Linked DNA regions of Homo sapiens: regions 2, 3 and 4 are each linked to region 1. The links are contacts of gene promoters, found by promoter capture Hi-C in blood cells and fetal thymus (Javierre and others, 2016). All regions are on one chromosome and are shown on one strand. Each heading gives the region's core, a stretch centred on a gene start or on the middle of the fragment in contact. The rest is flanking DNA. Distances are from core to core; before and after follow the strand shown.

What was found. The method cuts DNA at HindIII sites, captures the fragments that hold promoters and counts their contacts. A CHiCAGO score of 5 or more calls a contact.
Region 2: a contact is called between a fragment that was not itself captured here and the fragment with the promoter of MBNL2 in region 1, in 1 of 17 cell types (non-activated CD4 T cells). The highest score is 5.4, in non-activated CD4 T cells.
Region 3: a contact is called between the fragment with the promoter of FARP1-AS1 here and the fragment with the promoter of MBNL2 in region 1, in 1 of 17 cell types (M0 macrophages). The highest score is 5.3, in M0 macrophages.
Region 4: a contact is called between a fragment that was not itself captured here and the fragment with the promoter of MBNL2 in region 1, in 1 of 17 cell types (monocytes). The highest score is 6.8, in monocytes.

What each region holds. Positions count from the first base shown.
Region 1 is chr13:97,221,083-97,223,848 of GRCh38, reverse strand. It overlaps MBNL2 (muscleblind like splicing regulator 2), which reads right to left and starts at 1,516. Exons shown (of 9, transcript NM_001382683.1): 1 at 1,318-1,516. RefSeq lists an enhancer at 1,435-1,494. The HindIII fragment of the contact is 4,024 bases long and covers 1,143-2,766 here.
Region 2 is chr13:98,472,090-98,474,855 of GRCh38, reverse strand. STK24 (serine/threonine kinase 24) reads left to right here. Exons shown (of 11, transcript NM_001032296.4): 5 at 1-35. Among named protein-coding and RNA genes, the nearest start is that of FARP1-AS1, 38 kb to the right of the region's middle. The HindIII fragment of the contact is 5,160 bases long and covers 1-2,766 here.
Region 3 is chr13:98,434,480-98,437,245 of GRCh38, reverse strand. FARP1-AS1 (FARP1 antisense RNA 1) reads left to right here and starts at 1,406. Exons shown (of 2, transcript NR_046595.1): 1 at 1,406-1,474; 2 at 1,588-1,841. It overlaps FARP1 (FERM, ARH/RhoGEF and pleckstrin domain protein 1), which reads right to left. Exons shown (of 27, transcript NM_005766.4): 19 at 1,540-1,670. The HindIII fragment of the contact is 3,650 bases long and covers 1-2,617 here.
Region 4 is chr13:96,054,968-96,057,733 of GRCh38, reverse strand. No RefSeq gene overlaps it. Among named protein-coding and RNA genes, the nearest start is that of UGGT2, 3.0 kb to the right of the region's middle. The HindIII fragment of the contact is 1,386 bases long and covers 558-1,943 here.

The DNA.
Region 1 (2,766 bases), core at 267-2,766:
CTGCACTTCTCCTTGAAAGTAAAAACAGTGGGTCTAGAAGAATCTACGTGGCATTGCCCTTATTTAAATGAGTAGTTCTACTGCTCCTTGCAAAACAAGTAGGATAGCTGAAGAAACTTCCTCTTATTTAAAGATTATAAGAATGTTCCCCCTGCCTTTTTTAAAAACCTTATTGTCCCCAAAACACACACATTACCCAATTAACAAATAGCTTTCCACTTAACCTTTGTCTTTTAAAGGGACAGTAATGTTTCTTGTAGAACATTCAAGGTGGTGGTGGTTAGGCAAGTCAGATTTTTTTCTTCGCTTCAGTGCTTGCTAACTATTCTAAAAATGTTACACATTTATTGTAAACACATGCTTCCGAGGCCTAACAAAAAAGCACAGTTTCCTCATGCCTGGCAGAAATTTAAAACGGAAAAGGGCAGAAAGAATTCTTTAGCAAATATATCCTTTCCTTCTCCTGGGCCAAGTGTGTTAAAAATAAATCTTCTCCATCATTTCTCACTGCTGCTTCTCAGCGAGAAAGTTGATATGGTTCGGCATAGTGAAAACACAGCTTTAAAAGCTAGCCTGCCCTCATTAAATTATTCTGCTGGCTGTGTGTTCTCATTAAAAATGCATAAAGATCAGATAATTGCAGTAAGCATTATTAACCCAGCTTTACTTTTGAATATAATGGTTCCACTTTTAAGCTGGAAACAAAGGCTCAGACATGCCAGGAAAAGAAATGTAAACATTGAACTACAGTATCGAAAACTTGCCAGAAAGCTACCTCTTGCTAGGTTGTTTAAAATGTGCTTTTGAAACTCAATTAAAGCTGTAGCATTGTAGAGCTAGGTAGGTCCCTAATTTTTAATAAATAGACACATACGTTTGGCCAAACATTCAACCGATGATTATTTACCATGAATTTTTTTTTAATCCTTAATTGCAAGTCTGTTTTCAAATAATAGGATCCATGTAAACTTTATCTATTTGGGAACTAGCTATGGCAATATAACAATTTTTCACAGCAAGAAAATAAGATTGCTCCAAAGAATTCAAATGGTTTTTAAAAAATAATATAATAAATGAATCGATTCTTTGCATAAAAACTCGATTTCTTGCCTCACCCCAAACAGGCGGCATAGATTCAAGCTTTGCCATTTCTTTTTCTCAAATCAAAATGTTACGTAAAACTCCAGGGTCCCCCGCAAGTATTACAATTGAATTAGTGGAATCCAGTTTCCCTGGCTCCCGTAAGCAGCACACATGGAATGCAGCATACTGCAGCAAACTCTTTAAACATTCAAAAAAGGGGGGCGATTCTCCTACCTTGTTTAGCTCTGCCTGTCCTTCCCATTTACAGTAACCCCAGGAACATCTGGCAGAACCAAGTGGCCGAGGCTTCTCCACCGCATCATGAGAAAGAAACTTCCATGTAAATAGTTCTCATTCCCTGTTTATTGTACTCTGAAAGCCGTCTGCCGTATCTGGAAAATTTTACCTTCAGATGATGAAGCAAAGACAGTCTAAACTCTGTTGCTGTAAGCTGCAGCCCTTCCTTCCGACAAATCCCTCCCAGCCGGGGCCAGCCAATCCCCAGCCAGCTCGTCAGCCCTACTCGTCTGAAACTGGCCCTAATAGGATGACTGACACAGTAACACAGCACTTGCAGTGTGTAAAAACAGTGCATCCATACTGATGAAAGAGGAATTTCCCTCTCAGAAGAAAGCAATCATAGCACCAAGACAAAGTGGCACATAATTGGCAGAGCAGAGAGAGGGGTAGCTCAAGAAAACACCCTTGAAGACAGCCAGCTCGAAGCCAGGAGCTTCACCGTGAACACTTGGGAAAATGTGAAACTCCGCAGATTCCAAAGAAATCCAGGTTGTACATGAAACTGAAGTCCTTGGACTATCTGACAAAGCATATGTATATGTTTTTTAAAGGAAAAATAATTCAACGTCTGCCATGGCAGTTAATACCTTACAAAACATTTACATATTTCCATTATTGAGGAAGAATGTGCTAGCCCAAGTGCGTATTCAAAATCAAAACATGCTTATAGCTCTGGCACACACAGGTTTCCTGTATAACATCTGTTATTGCAGTGGTTAATTACTGCGGCCCATTTATCTTTCGTCTAAGTTTTCAGACCACTTGGGACTTCGATTAGGGAATGCTGGACAATAAAATTGATATCTATACACTACCCTTTTCTACTCTTGGCAGGCACCCACGAGAGGATTAGGTGTGCTTTAACCATCTTAGATGCCATTTGATAAATACTGTGCATTGGCTCACATTATCGTTAATGAAGCAATGATTATAGGAAGATGTTTACTGTTGAATACAAGGGGTACATGATCCAAGGGCCCCCATGAGGTGCCATTCCACAAAAGATGTTCTAGGAGGTGCTGGAGTTTCCTGAGATAAAGCAGAAGAAGAGAAAGTTTAGGAAGGGTTATTTATTTATTTATTTATTTATTTATTTCCCAGTCTACAGCATTTCTGTATGCCTTGAAAACAAAAACTCAAAAACATATGGCATTGAGCAAACACAACAAGCATACATTTTCCTCCCCTAAATACCACATTTTGAGAAAAAAAAAGTATGATGATTACATGATGAGACCAAGACAGAACAAAGCCTTTATTCATCTGAAAGGTTGAACCCAATGCACGATTTTTATAAGCAACTGTTCAGCGCATCTGTAATGAAGCAACAGAATGCAATGGAATGCTTTCTTTTTATTTTGCCATTGCATCTTAAAAACATAA
Region 2 (2,766 bases), core at 104-2,603, 1.3 Mb before region 1:
CCGAGGTCATCAAACAGTCGGCCTATGACTCGAAGGTGAGGGGAGGGTGAGGGCGGCGCCGTGCCTCACGAGGCCTGGAGGGCTCCCGCCTTTTGTTCTTTAGCCTGGTAGCTTTTCTAAGTTGGAACGAAGCTGGTACCTTGAGGTAGGTCATAAAGGTAATTCTTCAACCTTGGTTATGAACAGTTTTCTCCTCTGTCTCCTGCTGTATCATTTAATACCCTGTGCTGATCCAGCCCACCATGATCGAGGTTTTTAACTCAGGCTATGTTTGTTTGGTGGCAGCGGGGACACAGGATGGAGCGGGTTTGGAGGGGGGTGGGAGGAACTGAAGGGCCATGGTGGTGAGGGGTGGAGGCGTGTGCGGTTGCAGAGGGGCTCCACCTGCTGTCTGGGCACAGCTGGGGGTCGAAGTGCAAGTGCGTGGAATCGGCAACCTTGAAGGGGCCTGTAGAGAAAGGGGCTCCCACAAGAGAAAGGGAGTCCACGGAAGCGTGAGAATGGAGGAAGAACAGTGCTTTGAGTGACTGCTGCAGGGTCTTCCTATTATTTTTAGTTCTGAGGATTCTCGTTCCCAGCCTGTCCTTGTCAACATGTGATGAAACCCTAACCCTTTCTTCCCACTGTTTTTTACTTGTCCTGTGTTAGGGACACTCTCCTAATTTTTCTCATATTCTTTTTCTCTGTTGCCCTCCACTTTTGTGAACTCTGTTAGATGGGACAAAAAATCCCGGGACTTTGCCTCCTAGGGCTCTGGTTTAACTTCAGTTCGCACAGTCTGCTCTTCTTAGGACCCTGTACACAGTTAAAAGGCCACATGATCCACGGAGAATTGGCTTTCCTGGGCTCCAAGTTTCTGAGCAAACAAATACCTAACTCAGATATGCATATAGGCCGAACCTTGCTGCTGCTTTTAAACAGAAATCTTCCCAGTACCCAGTAAACTTCCCACCTTGTTAAACATAGTACAGGAAGCACCAGGTGACTTTCCCTGCAGACCCAGGTCACCGTTGCAAGCTATAGACTGTTAGAAAGCGTCCAGGTTGTAGCTCAAGTTGCAGGCGTACCTGGTTCCACCTTGGGAGGAGTGAGCCCGTCTCACTGTTGAGTGGTAGCGGTGGCTGTGACTTTTCTGAGCACTATGATGGCCTTGACAGCCTCTGGCTGGTGAGTGACTGATGGGTTCCCCCACCCCCCACATACCCACACAGCAGACCTGGCTGGTCTTGGGTGTGTGCCCTTGCCTGGGAGTGTCTCTACCCCACGTGGGAGGGACACTGCCTTGGCTGCTTCTCATCTGCAGTCACTTTGGCTGTTGACCCTTTTCCTGGGGTCATGTAATTTTGGGACTCGACCAGGAACTTACATGTTTAGTCCATTCTCTTTATTTTAAGCTGACCCCATTTATCAAAGTTCATCTGTGTAGATTTTGGCAAGGCTGAGACTAGAACCCATGTTTCTTAACTCATTGGATGACACCACCTCGATTATTCTCTTCTCATTCTTTGTAGTAAATTAGCTGATCTACCATGTGACTGAGGACTCTGATTTTAGATTTCCCTCTCTCCCTCCTTCCTTTCCCCTTTCCTTCCTCCCCTTCCTTCTCTCTTTCTCTCTCTTTCATTATTGTATTTATTTCATATTGATTCTTTCATTTAACCCATTCTGTGTAGGCACATTTTTCTGGATTCCAGTAATACTGGAGTAGACAAGAACAAAAGTCTCTTCTCCTGTATGTCTTAAATTCATATGGGGGAGACTGACAGTAAACAGGAAGAATTAACAGCACTTTAGGAGCAAGCGTGCTGTGTTGTAGTCACCATTTTCAGTGAGTTACCTGCCTTAGGTGACAAATATCCCTAGAGAGTGGCGGGGCAGAAGGCATGGGCACCTCAGTGTGCGGCCATTTCAGGGTTGGGCCCTGGCAGGATGGCGTTCTAGTTGAGATGCAAGCTGAGAGAGGTTTAAAAGAGTTTTGAAAGCATCAGTGCACAGCTTTAATTGGTGTTTTGAAAGAAAACTCCAGAATAAATAGAAGAATGTTTAAAGATTTAAAACTTACCCAAGGTCAAGAATGATGTGAACCCATAAGTCAAAGAGGTTGCCTGGTACCAAGCAAAATGAATGAATAGAGATGATTACATATGTCAGAACCTTTTCCAGAGGAAAAAAGTTGTATTACAAACTTATTAAAAAATTAAGTGCCTTCAAAGGAAGAAAATCAAGCTGGTGCCATTCATTCACAAATTTGTACTGAGCAACTGCACTGTGAATACAACTGTGATCACGACAGCACACTCCCTCCTCTCCTGAAGTAGAAGAAACAATAAATAAGCAGTTTCAGATCATGCAAAGTGCCGTGGAAAAAAGGAGACAGGGCCATGTGAAGATCTTCCGCTCTTGGTTGCACCATCACTGCTCACATGAGAACCTTTATTCGAGAGCTGTCCTGTCTGCCTGAGCCATCCGCACCCACCTTCCTTGAAGGGCAAGTCCTCCCTTCAGAGTTCCAGTTCCAACTCTGAACTGGAAATCATGAGCAAACTCTTATGTTGATGTGAAATTGACTTTCCAGGTTTGTGGACCCGGGAGGCGTGTGGTGAGGGCCGATGAGGGTCACGTCTGTGTCTGCGTCTCAAAGTTCTCAGAAGTGGGGTTTCACGCTGGGGCCTTAGGGCTGAGATTTCCTTTGTTTCCCACTGGGCGTGGCTCTGGACTGGCAGCTCTTGTCGCAAGCAGGGCCTGATAAGGGCGCTCTTCCTGGCT
Region 3 (2,766 bases), core at 157-2,656, 1.2 Mb before region 1:
GCCCATCATCACCTGATCGGCCAGTGTGTGATAGAGCAAAATGCTTCCCGTTGTGCTCTGCAATGTAGTTAATGCCACTATTCTATGGCTACCTTTCATCTCTTCAATTAAATGTAGGTGGGGGAAAACGAAGATAATTAATATGTATTATGTCATTTTCACAGAGCAAATCTCATTTGATCTTAATGACCTATGAGGGAGAGGCCATGGTCTCCATGTGCATGGTCCCCCGCCACCCCGGCACTGGTAGAGCGAGACTTTGAACCCAGGGCCACCTCCTCCAATCCAAGGTTCTTTCCATTGCAGTGGAAAACATTTCCTCAAAAAAAGGAATTCTTTATCAGTGGTCTGTTCACCATGTAGCATGAGATGCTAAATATTTTATAACTTTCAAAGCTGAGAGAAAATTACATCGATTCCACAGGGCTTTTCTGAGGGTTCCGTGTGGATGGGTAAATAAGGTCATTAAGTGCCGAGGCCTGGCAGGATCTTGTCACCAGCAGAGCTGAGGCCATCCCAGCTCTAATTTCTGCCAGCGCTTACCGCATGGCTCTTCTGACAATCTCTCACAACGTGGCTTCTGGTCAGTTCTGTAATTAGGCTTCCTGACAGAAATGCTCCAAAACAAGGAGAGCTTCCTTCCCCTGCCCTGAGTTACAGATGTCAAGTTTCCAGGGCAGCTGCTTGTTGGAAAAAGACTAAAAGCCCCTGAGATACTGGATCCTGCAGCAGCAGATCAAAGCAGCTACAGTGAGTTGTCTCTCGACCTGGGTGACGTAGCATTTGAAATGGGGGCGCCACAGGGTAAAGATCCCAGAGAGAGATTTGATGAGACGCAGCAACTGAATGATACGTTTGATTCCTGGGTGATGATGGCTTTCTAGGAAGGGAAGTGGAGAAGGCAGGCTTTGTTCCTGTCCTCCACATTGTCACTGGCCTGGAAGGAGTGTGTGCGGGAAGCCCTGTTGAGTAGGAATCACCTGCATCTCAGGCAGGGGGCTGGGGAGGGGTAGGCGACAGTGTCAGTGAACTTGCATCTCTCCTGGAATTGCTTTCCAGCTAAGATTTGGTATTTTAATTTTGAACTCAAATTAAATTATATATGGAAGATTGAATTTTAAAAAAACACTTCATACCTGCATGGGAATTTCTAGCATAATTTAATGCACTACCTTTCTGGCTTTATTACTATTTACCTAATTTTTTTTTTAATTTTCCATTTTCATTTATGTACATTTAAAAAAAATAAAATAAGCAATCTCAAATCTTCTGTGGGATATGGTAGGGGAAAAGGTAAAGAAGCGAATCACCCCGTAAGGAGAAAAAGCAGAATATGAGGTCAGAGGATTGCTTTATCTCCTCCGAACACAATGATTCTGAACTAACGACACTGTTGTGTTTTTCCAGTTGTCTCCCAGGTGGATGGAAAGAGGACATTTTGCTTTGCAAGGGTCTCTCTTCAAAAGGTTCAAATGTAAGTCCCTCCGATGCCTCCTTTCTGCTCCCCGCGCAGTGCATAGTGAGGCCACTGCTGCTTACCCTTCCCGGAACCACAAGATTGTCAATGCCAATCAAATCTTTCTTGAGTTCGTGCAGCTTCTGGAAATTCTCCATCTTGATCATCGTACCGTGGAGCTGTGCCACCATCTCCGTGATCTCTGCCAAAGCGGCTGTGAAGGAAAGACATACACAGTCTGCAGCGGGAAAGGCAGGCAGGGGTCTTCCCCTAGCAGCTGTCAGCTCAACGCTGCAGGGAAATCACTCCAGTCCCTGCACAGTATTCAAAGGTGTCTTTTGAGCAAAAACAGTGCTATTTCTCTATAATAAAAATTGATGGTGTATTTTCTGTATTTATTTGCTTCACTTTAGCATCTTAAAACTAAGTGACCCCTGCATGGTGACGTGGCATACAGCTGTCCTTCAATTAGACGGACCTGTTGGCTTAGAGGGGAAAGACACGGGGGAAGAAGACTGCCTTGAATTTTGTCCCTGGGTAGAGACTTTTCTTTTCCCTCCTGTTACTCGGAAAGAACAAGGCACAGTGAGCACAAAGAGGCCATAGAAAAATCTGGAGCAAAGTCAGCACCTCCTTGGGAGGAGGTGTAATTGATATTGTGAAGTGTCAGTATATTCCAGGTAACTAACATTCCACCACACCCCAGTTCTGTCTTGTGTGGAAATTACACTGTTTACCAAGATGGTTGTGAAGAATTGCTGTAGAATTCAAATTTTTTCTTTTCTTTTATTTGTTTGAGACAGAGTTTTGCTCTTGTTGCCCAGGCTGGAGTACAATGGCATAATCTCAGCTCACTGCAACCTCTGCCCCCAGGTTCAAGTGATTGTCCTGCCTCAGCCTCCCGAGTAGCTGGGATTACAGGTGCGTGCCACCACGCCCGGCTAATTTTGTATTTTCAGTAGAGACAAGGTTTCACCATGTTGGTTAGGCTGGTCTCGAACTCCTGACCTCAGGCGATCCACACGCCTTGGCCGCCCAAAGTGCTGGGATTACAGGCATGAGCCACCACATCAGGCCTTTATTTTTCGATAGAGGCACGGCTCCCCTATACTGGTGGGCATCCAATATTTAAAAGAAGCTAGTGCCTGATTAATACAAGCTTGGGTGGCACGCAAGTCCCCAGTGGCTGACAAGTTTGGGTGGCACTCAAGTCCCCAGCGGCTGAGCACTTGGGTAGTTTGGTCAAGAAAAGCAAGAAATACTTGTTGACTGAACTTCAGTCTTCAGAACTCTAAATACCTCTTTCACTG
Region 4 (2,766 bases), core at 1-2,500, 1.2 Mb after region 1:
GATGGCCACAAAAGGACAAATACTGTATGATTCTCCTTGTATGAGTATCTAGAGTAGTCAAATTCATAAAAATTGAAAGTAGAATGGTAGTTGCCAGGGGCTGGAGAGAGAATAGAGCATTTTTGTTTAGTGGGTGCAGAGTTTCAGTTTTGCAAAATGAAAAAGTTCTGGAGACTGGTTGCACAACAATGTGAATATACTTCACACTATTGAGCTGTACACTTAAAAATGGTTAAAATGGTAAATTTTATGTGTATTTTACCACCATTAAAAATACTTCGATTTAACCATATAAGTATAGATGGTTGTTGTTAAATAGCAAATCTCAAGTTCTTACATCATCCAAAATGATTAATTTAAAAATTATATATTTCACATCCTTTATTTGCTATTTGAAAGCCACTGTAGTAAAAAGCTCCACTAAAAAAATTCATCAAACATACTGGGATTAGACATTTGTGAGGCATTTATTATCTATCTTAAATAAAATATGTAAACCTGTAAATATCAAACTTGCAGACCCTTAAATTTTAAAAAAAGCTATAAAGAGTTAAGCTTAAAACTAAACATAAAAAACCTAAACCATACTCGTTTGATTATGATTTTGGTATAATCTTGTCTAGGGAATAGTGATGTAACAAATTACATAAGTCTCTAAATTTTTCCCAACTGGAATGAGTAGAAAACTTTTGTGTATTTAAGATATTTAAATAATATCCAGGCACGGTGGCTCATGTCTGTAATCCCGACGCTTTGAAAGGCAGGGGTGCACAGATCGTTTGAGCCCAGGTGTTCAAGACCAACCTGAGCAACATGGTGAAACTCCACATCTACAGAAAATACAAAAAATTAGCCAGGCATGGCGGCATGTGCCTGTGGTCCCAGCTACTCAAGAGAACCACTGCACTCCAACCTGGGCGACAGAGACTCTATATCAAAAAAAAAAAAACAAAAAAACAAAAAAACAAAAAAAACAACTCCACCCTGGGTGACAGAGAGAGAATCTATATCAAAAAAGAAAAAAAGGAAAAGAAAAAGAAAAAGATCTTTAATTTAATTTATTTATTTTTGAGATGGAGTCCCATCTGTTGCCCAGGCTGGAGTGCAGTGGTGCAATCTCGGCTCACTGCGACCTCTGCATCCTGGGCTCAAGTGATTCTCCTGCCTCAGCCTCCTGAGTAGCTGAGACTACAGGCACCTGTCATCACACCCCGCTAATTTTCGTGTTTTTAGTAGAGATGAGGTTTCACAATGTTGGCCAGGCTGGTCTCAAACTCCTGACCACACGCGATCCACCTGCCTCGGCCTCCCAAAGTGCTGGGATTACAAGCATGAGCCACCACGCCAGGACAAAAGATCTTTTAATAATAAAACGAGAATAGGAGAATAGGGTCTTTCTTATAAGGGAAATCTGGAAAACCTACAGAATAATACTTTTAAAAGTGAGTTCACCCACTGGATTTTATGTAGGCTTAGAAAATTAAAATTTTATTATATAATGCAATAATTTGGCAGTAACTTTGTACTCATGTCATGCCATTATTATCATTAAATACATATCATTAAATTCAAGATGATTTATTCTGTTAAACACAAGATTCTTATTATAAAGCACTCATTAATCACTTCTTCCACATATGATAGAAACTGCTACCTTCATCAATTTTATTCCTTTTATCCTGCAGTGAATAACTTTTGTATTGTATTTTGCTAAAAAGACTTAGGTAGAGTTAGGTCCGTAGTTCAAAGCCAATCTGTGCCAAAGGGTTATTGATAGTGGATTTTAAAATACTTTGCTACTCCACTGACTGGAGTGGACTTTGCTAATTTACTCAATTTTTGCATTTTAGTATTTTTTTATCTGCACATAGGAATCACATATAGAAGGAATCTTAAATATCACATTGTCTTATCCTTTTGCTCTGTAGATGGGGAAACAAGCTTGGGGATCATCATTCTGAGGAATGTTTCAAATTAAAATTTCTAGGAGAACACCATGTAAGATAAAATGTATAACAAATATATTCATAGATGGCCTAGATTAGATTAATTTTATTCTCTTTAAAAGAGAAATGAGCATTCTCACTATTCTGAACTCACATATAGTGAAATTTTTACTAATATACATTTTATTAGTGTCCTTTAATAGTCTATTTAATGTGCCTTTTATATGGCCAATTATTTCTTAAAGATTTGCAGTCCATTGGATATGCTGACATGTAAGACATTCACTGTCAATATTTTATTTCCTTAATCCCACAATCTCAATAAAAATTTCGGTCTAAATATGAGTGGAAATGGGGAGTTAATTAAAGCAAATAATTGTGAAAGATTCGTAATGTATTTTTCTCGTATACACTATGGATAGAAATGAAGTGCATTTGCCTTAGCTTTCTACATTCTTTCCATAAAGCAAGGGTTCTTCAATCTTCATGGAGTCCCCAAATAACATGTGAATGTGAAGTATTGTGCTAGGTACTGCACGGGATGCCAAAGATGAACAAGGCATGAGTTCTGGGGGAATATACTATCTCTCACAGGAGAAATAAGTAAGTAGCGTACTCAAGTATTAAAGTGAGAACTTAAGTGCTATATGGCAGTTACAATAAAGAGGAAATTTAAAGTAAGGATAGATCATACCAAGTAGGATAAATCAGGAAATGAAGGCTAAACTTTGGAAGTGAGAAATTATTCTGGAAATTCGTGGAACTGCTTAGCGGAATAGGGTTTTCTAAGGAAGGGTACTGACTAAGCAAATGAAACGAA